Regions from separate parts of the Homo sapiens genome. Here region 1 is linked to region 2. Evidence: promoter capture Hi-C in 16 types of primary human blood cells and fetal thymus (Javierre and others, 2016). All regions are on one chromosome and are shown on one strand. Each heading gives the region's core, a stretch centred on a gene start or on the middle of the fragment in contact. The rest is flanking DNA. Distances are from core to core; before and after follow the strand shown.

Region 1 (6,392 bases), core at 2,410-4,909, 790 kb after region 2:
CAACTAATTGAATCCATCGACATGAAAAACCACAGGCTGAAATGTGAAGTGCATACATCATGCTGAAGGATTTTGTCTCAGCCACGGAGGTAATAGTCAGCGAGGTCAGGTCAAAGAGGGTTAAACCAAGCCAGGATATAGCCAAAGAAATACATCAAACGCTGATTTTAAAAGGGCAATTAATCTTGGACAGAAATGCTTCCTGGGGAATGAGATCTCAATCTTAAGAGCACACTACATGATGTAGCAGTAAAAATGAACATATACAAGCTTACAGGGCTTTTATCCTATGATCACAAACAGAAGGAGAGTGCTGTTTATCAGAAAAATACAAACCCATTTAAAAATACTTACATTAACTTCTTCCGGATGCATACTCACTTAGCAGTACAGGTCTTAATGAACATGCAATATCATAGTATATACCAAATACCAGATATACCACATATCTCTTTCCATGTATACATTTTATATCTTTATTATATTTTCAGAGCTTTGACTCTTAACATTTTAAACAATTTAAAAACATGTCCATATTAATTCTTTCATTGACTTTTGCTTATAATCTCTGTATTTCTTAGTAAGGAGGACATAAACTAAAATTTAAATAATATAAAAAATCCCATATGATCAGTTGTAATTATAAAAAGCAAAGTGTATTAAATTAAGTGATTGTAAGGCCATTTTAAAACTGATTAAAAGCTTCCTGACAATAAGATAAAAATGTGGTAAAAGTTAAAAATTAAACCTTGTTCATTAATAAATACATAAATAAACTTTGAAAACAATATTATTTTATCTGCTTTCATAAAATGACCCAGTAATTCTAGTTGGGTGTAATAGGGTCCATTAATATTTGTCAAGTATGAACTACAGAATAGCTCAACTTACTTGCTTTATTTAAAATATAGACAATAATTGTACTGTTTACATATGGTCAGAATGAAGCCCCATAGTACCTGTTTCAATGAAAAGATAACTTGTTTTTAACTGTCTGCATATACTATTATTTTGGTAAGAGAATTTTGTTTTCTAGTGCTAAAGATGAAATAGTTGTGCAAGTGTGTGTTTCTCATTTTGGGAACAGTCAGGTTAATTCATTTAACTTCTTGAGATTAAGATAACAATAATTCAGAAGGAGAAACCAGAAGCATCTTCTGTCAGTCCAGTAATGTCATCATTTCCAGTAGTGGAGAATGAAAATAATCAGCATTATTATTGCCCAAATCAAATAGCGTGAAGGTACAGAGATACTAGTTCCTTCTAATTCAAATTCTAAATGAATATCTAAAGAATTACTGAAATTGTAAAACCCGCAATCTGATGAGGTTTGGGAATTGGAGTTTTTTTTATTCCTGTGGCATGAGTTTGCAAACTGAGTGCCTATTCTTCCGGGGGCAGTGCCATCACACTGACAAATGTGATTATTGCTCAAATATTATCTCAAATCACGAGATACTAACAAGCTTCAATTTTGTCCAAATACTTAAAAGTATCTGCTTTATACGGTCAGCATGAGATTTATATGTTTCTTTTTCTAACTGCTTCATGTCTGAAAAAAATTTATCTTGTCAACTAATTCACTTTATTAACATAATCTAATCATATACAGCAAAGGAGAAAAAAATGTGAATATACCATTTTTTCTTTTCTTTTTCTTTTTCTTTTTTTTTTGAGATGGAGTTTCACTCTTGGTGCCCAGGCTAGACTGCAATGGCGCATTCCAGGTCACTGCAACCTCTGGCTCCTGGGTTCAACCAATTCTCCTGCCTCAGCCTCCCAAGTAGCTGGGATTACAGGCATGCACCACCACGCCTAGCTAATTTTGTACTTTTAGTAGAGACGGGGTTTCACCATGTTGGTCAGGCTGGTCTCTAACTCCTGACCTCAGGTGATCCACCCGCCTAGCTTACCACGTTGTTATACATTACATTAGAAGACTGGGAAATGAAGTATAATTGGGTAAAGCTTATAGGTGTTTTGTATTCTCCAAGGTAAAAATAAATGTTCTTGATGTGTTATTTTTAATGTACAAAGAAAAAAATATTTCACTCAGGTCTGGCACAGAAGCTTAGATCTCTGAGTCATTTTAACTACAGCTGAAACGACAAAAACAATTTACCTGAGCTCACCTTTGGTCATTTCCTGTTACCTCCAACTTGACTAATTCCCTTAGCCATTTACAAAAAAAGAAAGGAACACACAAAAGAGCTCATCATTAGTTACTCCACAAGCAGCAGCTCATCATTAGTTACTCCACAAGAACAATGACCTAAAGCACGTATTCATAAATACTAGTACATTTGACTTTCATATGATGAAATCAGACAAAATTCTTTCATCACTGAATCACTTGTAGGGAGTAGAAGACAATGGTGCCACATAACTTTTATGAAGTACTTTCTCTTTTCATCATGTGATGACAGCAAGTTCTTATCCATACACACCCAATCTTAAAGTCTTTCGCTTTCAACTTAAGTTGAATGCAGGTGTGTCAAAATGCTTCATGTTTGACACATCTGACAATACTACAGGTGAACTGAACCAGGCAGTAAACAGTTTTTTACTGAAACAGTGACTCGATGTTTTGGATACTCTACATAGATTTTTAAATGACAATTTTTTTTAATACGTAATAAAAAGAAGAAGCAAAGATAAAAGTTTTTTTCTAAAGAAAAGATACTGAGATGTGTTAGAGATGTGGCTTCCTCCTGGTATGAAAGATACCATCAAAAATACCTGAAAAGAATAGGCATTATCTATGTCATTTCAATGAAGTGTGTGTTCTGCAGTCAAGAGAAGCATTTGACAGTTTGCATGGGGAGAAGTCTGTCACACAGATGTACTCACCTACAGCACCTGAAATCACCTAAAAGGAAGGTTTGTGGATTAGGTTGTGTGGCTGCGCTGCCTCACTGCTCCCCTCTAAAAAAAAAAAAAAAAAAAAAAAACCACAAGGGAAGTCACACTGTGTATCCCCTAGAAAAGGATGTACACGTAGAGCAGCCTAGAAATTTAACAGAACAAAGAATCTCTTTTAAAAGAACAGCTTCACAAATTTGTGTGCCTTTCTTGTGTAGGGTCACGTTAATCTTGTCTTGTAACCTGGGTATAAGAGCAGAATAAAGGTGTATTCTGAGAGTGTCAGTTCAAAGCACTTGAATGCTTTTCATTTACGTGTCTGATGTTCATAATCACCATTTAAAAAATTCAACAAGAGTGGTCAGGATTATATATAGGAACACTAAAATAACAAAACAAACAAAATAAAAACAGTAGACACTCAGGTTCCTAAGATCATATCAGAAATATTATTAAGAGAGAAGAGCATGTAGGCAGATTAGATACTAAACACAAATTGAAGACTAAGATTTGTGAAAGTAAAATAAAGAGTAAGGAAAAAGCAAGTATTTCAGAATGTTATTTTAAACTAAACCAAAAAGTTAAAAAGAAAGAAAACAAAAACAAATGGCAGCATAGTAAAGTGGAAAAACCAAAAGACCACCAGGAGATGGAGACCTGTGTTCTAAACCTATTTCTGCAATTAAGTGGTTAAGAGACGTTTGGCACAATCATGCAAAAATTAAGAGAGTGAACTTTGGGAGGCCAAGGTGGGTGAATCACTTGAGGCCAGGAGTTCAAGACCAGCCTGGCCAACATGGTGAAACCCCGTCTCTACCAAATATACAAAAATTAGCCAGGCATGGTGGCACATGCCTGTAATCCCAGCTACTTGCGTGACCGAAGCACAAGATTGCTTGAACCTGGGAGGCAGGGGTTGCAGTGAGCTGAGATGGCATCACTGCACTCCAGCCTGAGCAACAGAGTGAGAATCAGTCTCAAAAAAAAAAAAAAGTAGATTGAAAGTTCTACAGTTATACAATTCTTTAAAGAAGTAAAATACAGTATTAACACCCAACTAATTTCTTCCCACTCTAGGCACTCCTTAACCACACCCACAAACTAGAAATTGGCAACCATGAAATAAAAATGAATTGAACAAATGAATCCATTAACAAAATAAACAATATAAAATTTCAAGTAAGCCCTCTTTCCTGGATTAAAAAGCAACTGTTAACTTTAGTTTTTACAGATAAAACACAAATGTATCAAGGGAGACCCCCCACTTATATAAACTTGGGACTAGCAAATATGGATCATTTTGTGTCTGTGACAATTGTGCTGCTGTTAGGGGACAGATCATTACAGAACACATTACTTCCAAAGTTTTGGGTTTCATTGCAGTGTTCTCATTCTATAGTCAAGGATGTTATAAAAAAGGAAGTTTAAAACAACATATTTTAAAAAGTAGATTGTCGAAAAAAATCTAGGAAAAGTGCAATAAGGTAGTCATTTGAGGCTGGGTGCAGTAGCTCATGCCTATAATCTCAGTACTTTGTGAAGCTAAAGTGGGAGTATCACTTGAGTGAGAAATGTAAGACCAGCCTGGGCAACACAGTGAGACCCTGCCTTTTGTTTTCAAAAAAGGTAGTTATTCAAATATTAAACTCTGGCTTAAATTTCATTTACTCCTAATTGATAAAATCATTTGTTATAGTGTGGTTGCTTGTCCCCGCCAAACCTCGTGTTGAAATTTTATCACCAAAGTTGGAAATGGGGCCTAATGGGAGGTATTTGGGTTGGGGTGGGGGGGGCGGGGGTGGATCCCTCATGAATAGATTCATGCCCTCCCTGGGTGTGGAGGAGTGAGTTCTCACTGTTTTAGTTCCCACAAGAGCTGGTTATTATAAAAAGCCTGGCACCACCCTGCTCTCTCTGGCTTCCTCTCTCACCATGTGACCACCGCACACACCAACTTCCCTTCAGCTTCCACCATGAGCAGAAGCAGCCTGAGGGTCTCATGAGATGCCCAATCTCCAGGCAGTAGAGCTGTGAGTTAAATAAACCTTTTTTCTTTATAAATTACCCAACCTCAGGTGTTTCTTTATAGCAACACAAACAGACTAACACAGCATCTAGTTTTTAATGTTCTTTAAAGTACTACTACAAAGTACTCAAAAAGGGAAAAAAACACAATACAGAGAAATGAGTAACTGAAAGCCAGTGCTGCCACGGACAGGTAAGAGGTTTATGGGGTTTATCTCTATCAGCAATAAAAACGATTAACCTCTTCATTACACTTCAAATGAAAATAACTCATCTATATTCCAAAATCCTCAAAAACAAAAATAGATATTAAATAGATCAAAAACAAACACCCTTATAACAGAGAAAATGAACTAAAAAAGTAAGCTTATTCTTGAATTTCTGGGAATTTCTCAGAAGTTATGAGTTACTAAGGCAAAATTTCTGTAGCCTGAGTTCAAAAATAAAAAGTTTACTTAACTATCTCTAAAGATATACAGGAAAATGGCAACACTGGTTGTCTCTAGAAAGGGGAACCAGGTTAGAGTTTGGTGAACAGGTAGTTAGGAAAGAGACTTTTTACTAAATTCCTTTATATATGCTTTGATTTTTAAAATATGTAAATGTATTGCCTATAAGAAAAAAAGTTTTAGTTATTTAACTGAACACAATCCATTAAAAAAAACTTGATAGACAGGAATTCACCAAAATTAAATGCTTTTATCCTTCAAAAGAAAATGAAGACAAGGCTGGGCATGGTAGCTCACACTTGTAATGCCAGCACTTTGGGAGGCTGAGGCGGATGAATCCCCTGTGGTCAGGAGTTTGAGACCAGTCTGGCCAACACAGTGAAACCCTGTCTCTACTAAAAACACAAATATTAGCCAGGCATGGTGGCAGGCACCTGTAATCCCAGCTACTAGGGAGGCTGAGTCACGAGAATCACTTGAACCCGGAGGTGGAGGTTGCAGTTAGCCAAGATTGCACCACTGCGCTCCAACCTGGGTGACAGAGCGAGACCCTGTCTGGGAAAAAAAAAAGAGAGAGAGTGAGAAAGAGAGAAAGAAAATGAAGGCAAGTCACAGACTAGGAGAAAATATCTGCAAATTGTGTATCTGATAAAGAACTTGTATCCAGAATATATAAATAATGCTAAAAACTGAGTAATAAGGAAACAATCCATGAAAAAAAACAAGGATTTGAATAGACACTTCATCAAAGAGATCTACAAATTATAATAAGCACATGAAAACATGTTCAATACCATTAGCCATTAGAAAAATGAGAATTAAAATCATCATGAGATACCACTAGGATGGCAATACATGTGACTGAGGATGTGGAGAAACTGGAATCCTTATACACCGCTGGTGAGACTGTAAAATGGTACAGCCACTTTGGGAAAGCTCAGTAGTTTCTTTTAAAATAAAAAATAAACTTACTATATGACCTTGTCATTCCACCCCTAGGAAGCTACCCAAGAAAAATGAAAACAAATGTCCACAGAAAGACCCATATTTGAATGT
Region 2 (6,138 bases), core at 1,572-4,071:
GTACTACTTAATCCTGTTCGATATTTTACTTGTACTGTTCAACAACTCACCCACTGCCTTCAGGATAAAGTGCAGACTCGTACACACAGCAGGCAGGACCCATCAAACCTGCCCTGCTCATCTTTCCAGCCCCATGCAAATTTATCCATCTGTTGATGGTCTGGTCAGAATCGCCTTCTTGCCACCCTACAAACAAATGCAATTCCACAACAATCCAGGCCTGCATAGCTATGGCTTTACTTTAGTCACAGGATCAGGAATGTCCTTTGTCCCTTACCCAACTGGTCAACTTCCAGACTCAATTCACATAATGCCTCCCCCTCCTGATGGAAATTAGTCCCATCCTCTTCTGTGTTCTCCTCTCACCCTAAATCCTCTTCTATCAGAGTGTGAGTCCCCTGTGACAGGCCTGAATTTCCTGATAGCAACTCTCTTAAGCAATGGTCGATGGTATTGCACAAGAAGTGTCATGGCTTCCAAATTTCTGCCCAAAAAGGCAGAACTCCACCAAAATGGTCTCAACGCTCCAAAGCTTTCAGCAGGAGAGTACTGAGCATATGGCTGAAGGTGCTCAAGTGAAAGAGACAGAGAGCTACCGCAATGCCCAGCTGATGCTGGGGAGAAACAAACCCATCCTAGAAATCAAAGGCTACCATTTAAGCAAATACCTAAGTCAAGCCTAGGGCTTAGTAACCAAAACCTTAATGCAAAAAAAAAGATACTCCACCGTAAGCTATCAAGGAGCCACACAACAAGATCCAGACTGGGCCAGAGCTACATTCCCTTGGCCACGAGGCTTAGAGTTAGCATGAGTTGCTTAATGAGAAGGAACTGGAGTGTATTAAAATCCACAGTATACCCTTCCGAGTTGTTTATAATCTTTTAGACGTCTTCATAAAATCCTCACTTAAACCTTTCATGAAATATCAAACATAAATAAACAAACTGTAGGATTTAGGCACCCACAGTGGTGAAAAACTAACAAGTAACTCTAAAAACAAACTTAAAACTGCACTTATCAAACCACAGAATGGGTAATTCTTTATATTCTGATCCTCAAGAACCAGAACCAAGAGAGTCACCTGGCTTCCCATTACTAGTCTGGAACACTGCAGAGCTAGACTGTCACATGAATGAATGAATGAATGACAACATTCCTACTGCAGAAGCAAGTAAGCCCTATGGTCAGTCCAAATATTTCTCATATGAGAAAAAAGGCCCATAACAGGTAAAAGAGCTGCTAAAAGTCACCTAACTAGTGAATGACAGAACCAGAACTAGCGCTCTGGTCTTTTCATTTAGTCCAGCCTCTTTCTCCATTCCAGCAGGATCACTTTACTCCCATATTCAAAGGAAACAACCTTTAAACCACAGGAATAGAGCTTCTTGAGCTGTTAGGGTAAATTTAATAAGCAAGCAGCTGAGCAGACTGAGAAAACATGGTTACCAGATGGCCACTGGTCAAAGAAACCATGAATGAATGCATCAGTGTCACTTGGAAGTCTTAATTTAAAACAGTATGTCCTTTACTCCGAAGCGTCAGCACCCTTTACCCCAATGTAGCACGTGCTTTAAAGTAAACACTTTCTGGCATAAATTGGGAAAGTAAACAGAAAAACATTAAAACTGTATCACACAAATACATACTTATTCTGATTATATTTTAAGTAATCTGAGAAATGTAGCTATTAGTAAGAGAATCACGGCCACAACATGTGGATGCAATCCAGTTCCTAAGTCGTCAAATTCACGTTTACACAAAAAAGGTGTCTGCCCAGAATTCCGCCTACTGGATCTCAACAGTTACCTTGAGTTCATCTGCAGCTTAGGCAAATGGTGGTCAACTCCGCCACTAGACAAAACTTACTCATTCTGAAAAAGGTCAACCCCTCTCCCTTCTAAGACCTCCTCTCACCCTCTCTCAACTCCTTTTCTTGTTTAAGAAAACATGGATCAGCACGGCCACACTATGGGGTCACTGCTCCGCCTTCCCCATTTCTGTCCGGGTCTCTGGCATCCCCAGGGCCCAGTGCGCCTCATCCGACCTGGGACAGGGTAGGCGCTCAACACACCTTTTAAAATCGAACGAATATGCTTCAACTCTAAGGACTTTAAAGTGTAAGTTTTAAAAGTTTGTTTTCGTTTTTAAATGTGACATCACACACACACACACACACACACACACACAAACACACACACACACCCCAGCGGACACTTTCTCCTACCACCATATTTAAGCAAGAGGCTTCGCCAGTCAAAAAAGCAGTGACACCGTCTGTCTTCCCACTCCCTGAAGACACCCATTCTACCCGGGCGTCTGCCCTTGACCCCATTGATTCTAGGAAGCGGCCGGGCGGCGCTGCCCACAGGCTCCGCCGCCAGCACTAGCAGAGTGACCGCCCGCGGGACCCCAGCGCTGCAGAGGAGCCCCGCGCCCCCGGCCCAATTCTCCCAAACAAAGGCCGAGGGGGAGGGGAGGGACGCGGGGGTCGAAGGCCTACAGGAAGAGGAGCTGCGGGTGCCACGGGTCAGGCAGGCTGGGCACCTTTGCCCGGGAGCCCTCTGGGCGGAGGCAGAGATACTTACGGCGGTCTCGTCGCGGTACACGTCGGGGTACTGAAGGGACAGCATGGCCGGGGACAGGCAGGGGGCAGCGTGGAGGGGCGCGGGCTCCGGGAGCGGACCTGAGCTAGCCGGGCTGGCCGCGAGGCGCGGCTGGGGCGCAGGCAGCTGCGGGGCGGCCGGCGGCAGCGGGCGGCCGGCTCACGGCCAGAGCTAGCACAAACGGACTGGCGGCGCGGCGGCGAGGACGTGCAGAAAGCAGGAAGCCGCTGTCTGCGAGGCCGGGAGCCCCTCCCCGGCGGGCGGGCCCAGCGGCGGCGGCGGCGGCAAGAGGGAGCGGGCGGCACCGAGCGTGCGCTAAGGCCGGCGCACAGCTCCCTCTGCAGGATCGCCGGCCGCGCCCGCGCCGCCCGGGCGCACGGAGGAGCACGCCGGCTACGCGCTCGCCCACGCCCGGCCGCCCGCCCGTCCTCTGCGCCGGGGACAAGTCCTTCCACCGAGGCCGGGTCCCCGCGCCTTCCCTAGCGCCCTGCCTCTCTTTGGCCGCGCTCGCAGGACCGCCTGTAGGAGAGTGAAGCCCCAGGGTTTCCTTGCTGATGGAGTCCCCCACCTTCCCCAGCCTTCCTGTTCCCGGGCTGGTTACGGCGGCGAAGGGAGACCTTGCCTCTCCCCAGCCTTGGAAGCAGAGGGCTGGAGGTGGCCTTATGTCCACTGCCTGCGACTCTGGACTTGAAGGGAAGAAGTAATCGATCATGATGACCGTGAAAGAAACACGTCTCCCTTCATCCCAGGACCCCTGGTGGACACTGGGTGGTTTAGCATCCGGACTATGGAGATGCTTTGGAGGTGTTGGCAGGACTACGGTTGAGCCCTTATTTGATATTTACCGATTGAGAAAGAACCAAGATTAAGAGGCCTGGAACTCATCAGGGGTATTTTATTTATCCTGCCTTTTCCTCATTTCCTCTCCTGCTGTCATGCTTGTTTATTGAGCACCTACTGTTTATGGGAAGAAAAGATAATAGACAAGATACTTGACCTCAAACCCATGAAAATTTAATAGTTACATGTCATCATCCTCGGGCCAGCAGCGGTATGTGTTCTGGTCTTGCTTCCTGGACCACCCAGAAGAGACTTTATAGCCCCAGCCATCAGGGGTATAGTGTGTGCCCAGTGTGTTTTCTATCCCTGGCTTCCAAAAAGTCCTGGAAGAAAGAATAGGTGTGACCAGAAAGTCCTTCACCTCCGGAATCTAAGTGGATATGGTAACTATTATAAACTTGTGTCCTCCGTCTCTTTTGTGATATGGTCCCAATTCCATGCCTCACCCTTAGTTCACCATTTCTGTTCATAGTGATGTGTCATAATCATTTTCTGCATCTGATCCCAGATACCCCCTCCTGGGGCAATCTGAGAATCCTCAATTCTGGGAGAACTCACGCTATTGATAACAAACTTTGTGCAAACACGGGGGCATAGCCCACTACAGCCCAGAAGTCCCAATTCCAGTTCCCACCTCGTGCCTTCCCTGGCTGTCACCTGACGCAGGGACTGGCAGGCATTGTCTCCTCCTTCTGCCACTGTGAGGGATTTTTTAAAGAGCAACCCAGGAGCACTTGACCCAGCAGACCCCCTAATGATAATATTAATGCTTATGGAGTGTTTTTTTCAGTGTATCAGGAAACTATCTAGAACTAATGTCCCTATTTTATAGTTAAGGAAAACGGGCTGACTTTTGCCCAGGACTTCACAAAAAGTGAAAAAGTAGAGCCAGGATTCCAACCTAGGTCTCTCCAATACCAATGCTCATTCTTAACCACTCTGACGGCCTTCCTACTCATAAATAAGTAGAGATACTCTAGAGTCTACAGGGCACCCATTTGCAGGGAAAACTTCAATTTAGCAGGACCTAAAGAAAATGTGGGAATTGTGGTACCCAAAGGACAAATCAAACCTAGGTATCATCCTCTCTTCCCTTTCAGTCAGCCGTTCTGGTGCCCAGTTCCTCTGGGCCCTGAGAGGTAAAGGTTTGTAGTGGCACAGACAGTGCAAGAGGCTCCCAGCAGTAGGTTGTCTGCATCTGGAGTGAGATGGAGTGGGAGGGAAGATGGGAGAGCACCCTTTCCCCTCCTATTGACCACGTTAGTTGCACTTTTGTTTGCCAATGTGTTGTCTCCTTTAATCCTTATAGCAAAGACCATTTTACAGATGAGGAAAAAGAATCTCAGCAGCTTTAAGGGAATGAGTTCAAAGTCATCACACAGCTAAGACAATACAAGATTCATATTCATAAGTTGACTGCAAAGTCAACTTTTTCCATAGACAATGCAGAGAAAGGAAGTATTTGAACTATCTCAGAATGGAAGTGCCACCTCCAGAATAAATACCAGAGCACTCTTTGACCTCTGACACTGTAGACTGTTTTCAGGGGAATTGTAGAATTTACACTGTGATAACTCATGCTCTAATTCAGAACCCTAGGCCTTTGGGAGAATGAGGGTGAGCAGAGACATAGAAGGACTTCCAGGGCAGCCTTCAGCCTCTCCTCTGACCTCAAACTTTGTGCCCCACTCAGTTAAGAAGAGTCACCCTCTGAAGAAGGCAGGCTAGTGATCATTTACTGCTGCTTGGCTGTCTCTACCCCACCTCAAGTTGCTTATCAAAGCAACCCCCACCCACATATGGTCTCCAAGAGAGGATTTCTGGTAAATGCACAAGGATGCCCACCCAAGGGGCGAAGTGGGGACTGAAATCCATCTCACTCTCCACTTGCCACACTGCAGACAGGTGCTGGCACATTCACCTGGAGGAAGGGGTGTCTTATTCTCAAGGGACTGCACCTTCCTGGGTAAAGGATATTTTTCTAATTCACACAAGGGTGCTGTCTTGTTAGCACCCCTTAGAGATGGATGCTTTGAGTGCTGCCTGGATAATCCACCTTTTAATTTGACTCTGGTTTCCAGGTAGCTAGCTAACATACTGACTAATTGGTGGAGTGCAGTCATTTCACACTATGTTTCCCCAAAGATTTATGTTGCTTTTTCCAGTGTGACTTTTAATGGAAATTCTTATGTATTCTTGTATATCTAATCTTTGCAAGGCATCATGAAGTGTGAAATAGCACCTAGGATAAGAGTAAGATTCTCTTTCAGGCTCTGTCACTAACTGGTTTCCTAACTTTGAATGAGTCCATCATATCATCAATATTTTTATTTAGAAATTGAGACAGTTGGGTTAGGTGGTTTCAAAAGAATCTAAGATTCTTTAATTCTGAGTGGGAACAGGAGATACAGGAACCTCAAAACTAACTCTGAATTAAGAATAAGATTATCCTGAGGGAGAATTGTCCAAACGTTATGGACAGATGCAGGTAAGATTGGGCAGTAATTGTCTGTCTACTGAAAAGACTTTCTCCATAATTTTCTTCTGTTTTCAAACCATTCACAAGAGAAGATTTGGCTCTAGGGACTATTGTTGGGCCTGTAGTCCATACTAAATGCATGGATCTGACCTTTTCAGGAGCTATAACTGTTCCCTTCTAATACCCTTCTCTCAACATGGGCATATGGTTAAAAG

The links. Contacts are between HindIII fragments. The CHiCAGO score rates a contact against its expected background, and 5 or more counts as called.
Region 1: a contact is called between a fragment that was not itself captured here and the fragment with the promoter of PREP in region 2, in 2 of 17 cell types (naive CD8 T cells and naive B cells). The highest score is 6.8, in naive CD8 T cells.

Annotation. Positions count from the first base shown.
Region 1 is chr6:106,192,882-106,199,273 of GRCh38, forward strand. All of the region lies in intron 7 of ATG5 (autophagy related 5), which reads right to left. Among named protein-coding and RNA genes, the nearest start is that of PRDM1, 110 kb to the left of the region's middle. The HindIII fragment of the contact is 3,183 bases long and covers 2,069-5,251 here.
Region 2 is chr6:105,400,261-105,406,398 of GRCh38, forward strand. It overlaps PREP (prolyl endopeptidase), which reads right to left and starts at 2,822. Exons shown (of 15, transcript NM_002726.5): 1 at 2,587-2,822. The coding sequence starts at 2,631. RefSeq lists a silencer at 2,530-3,099. The HindIII fragment of the contact is 7,847 bases long and covers 531-6,138 here.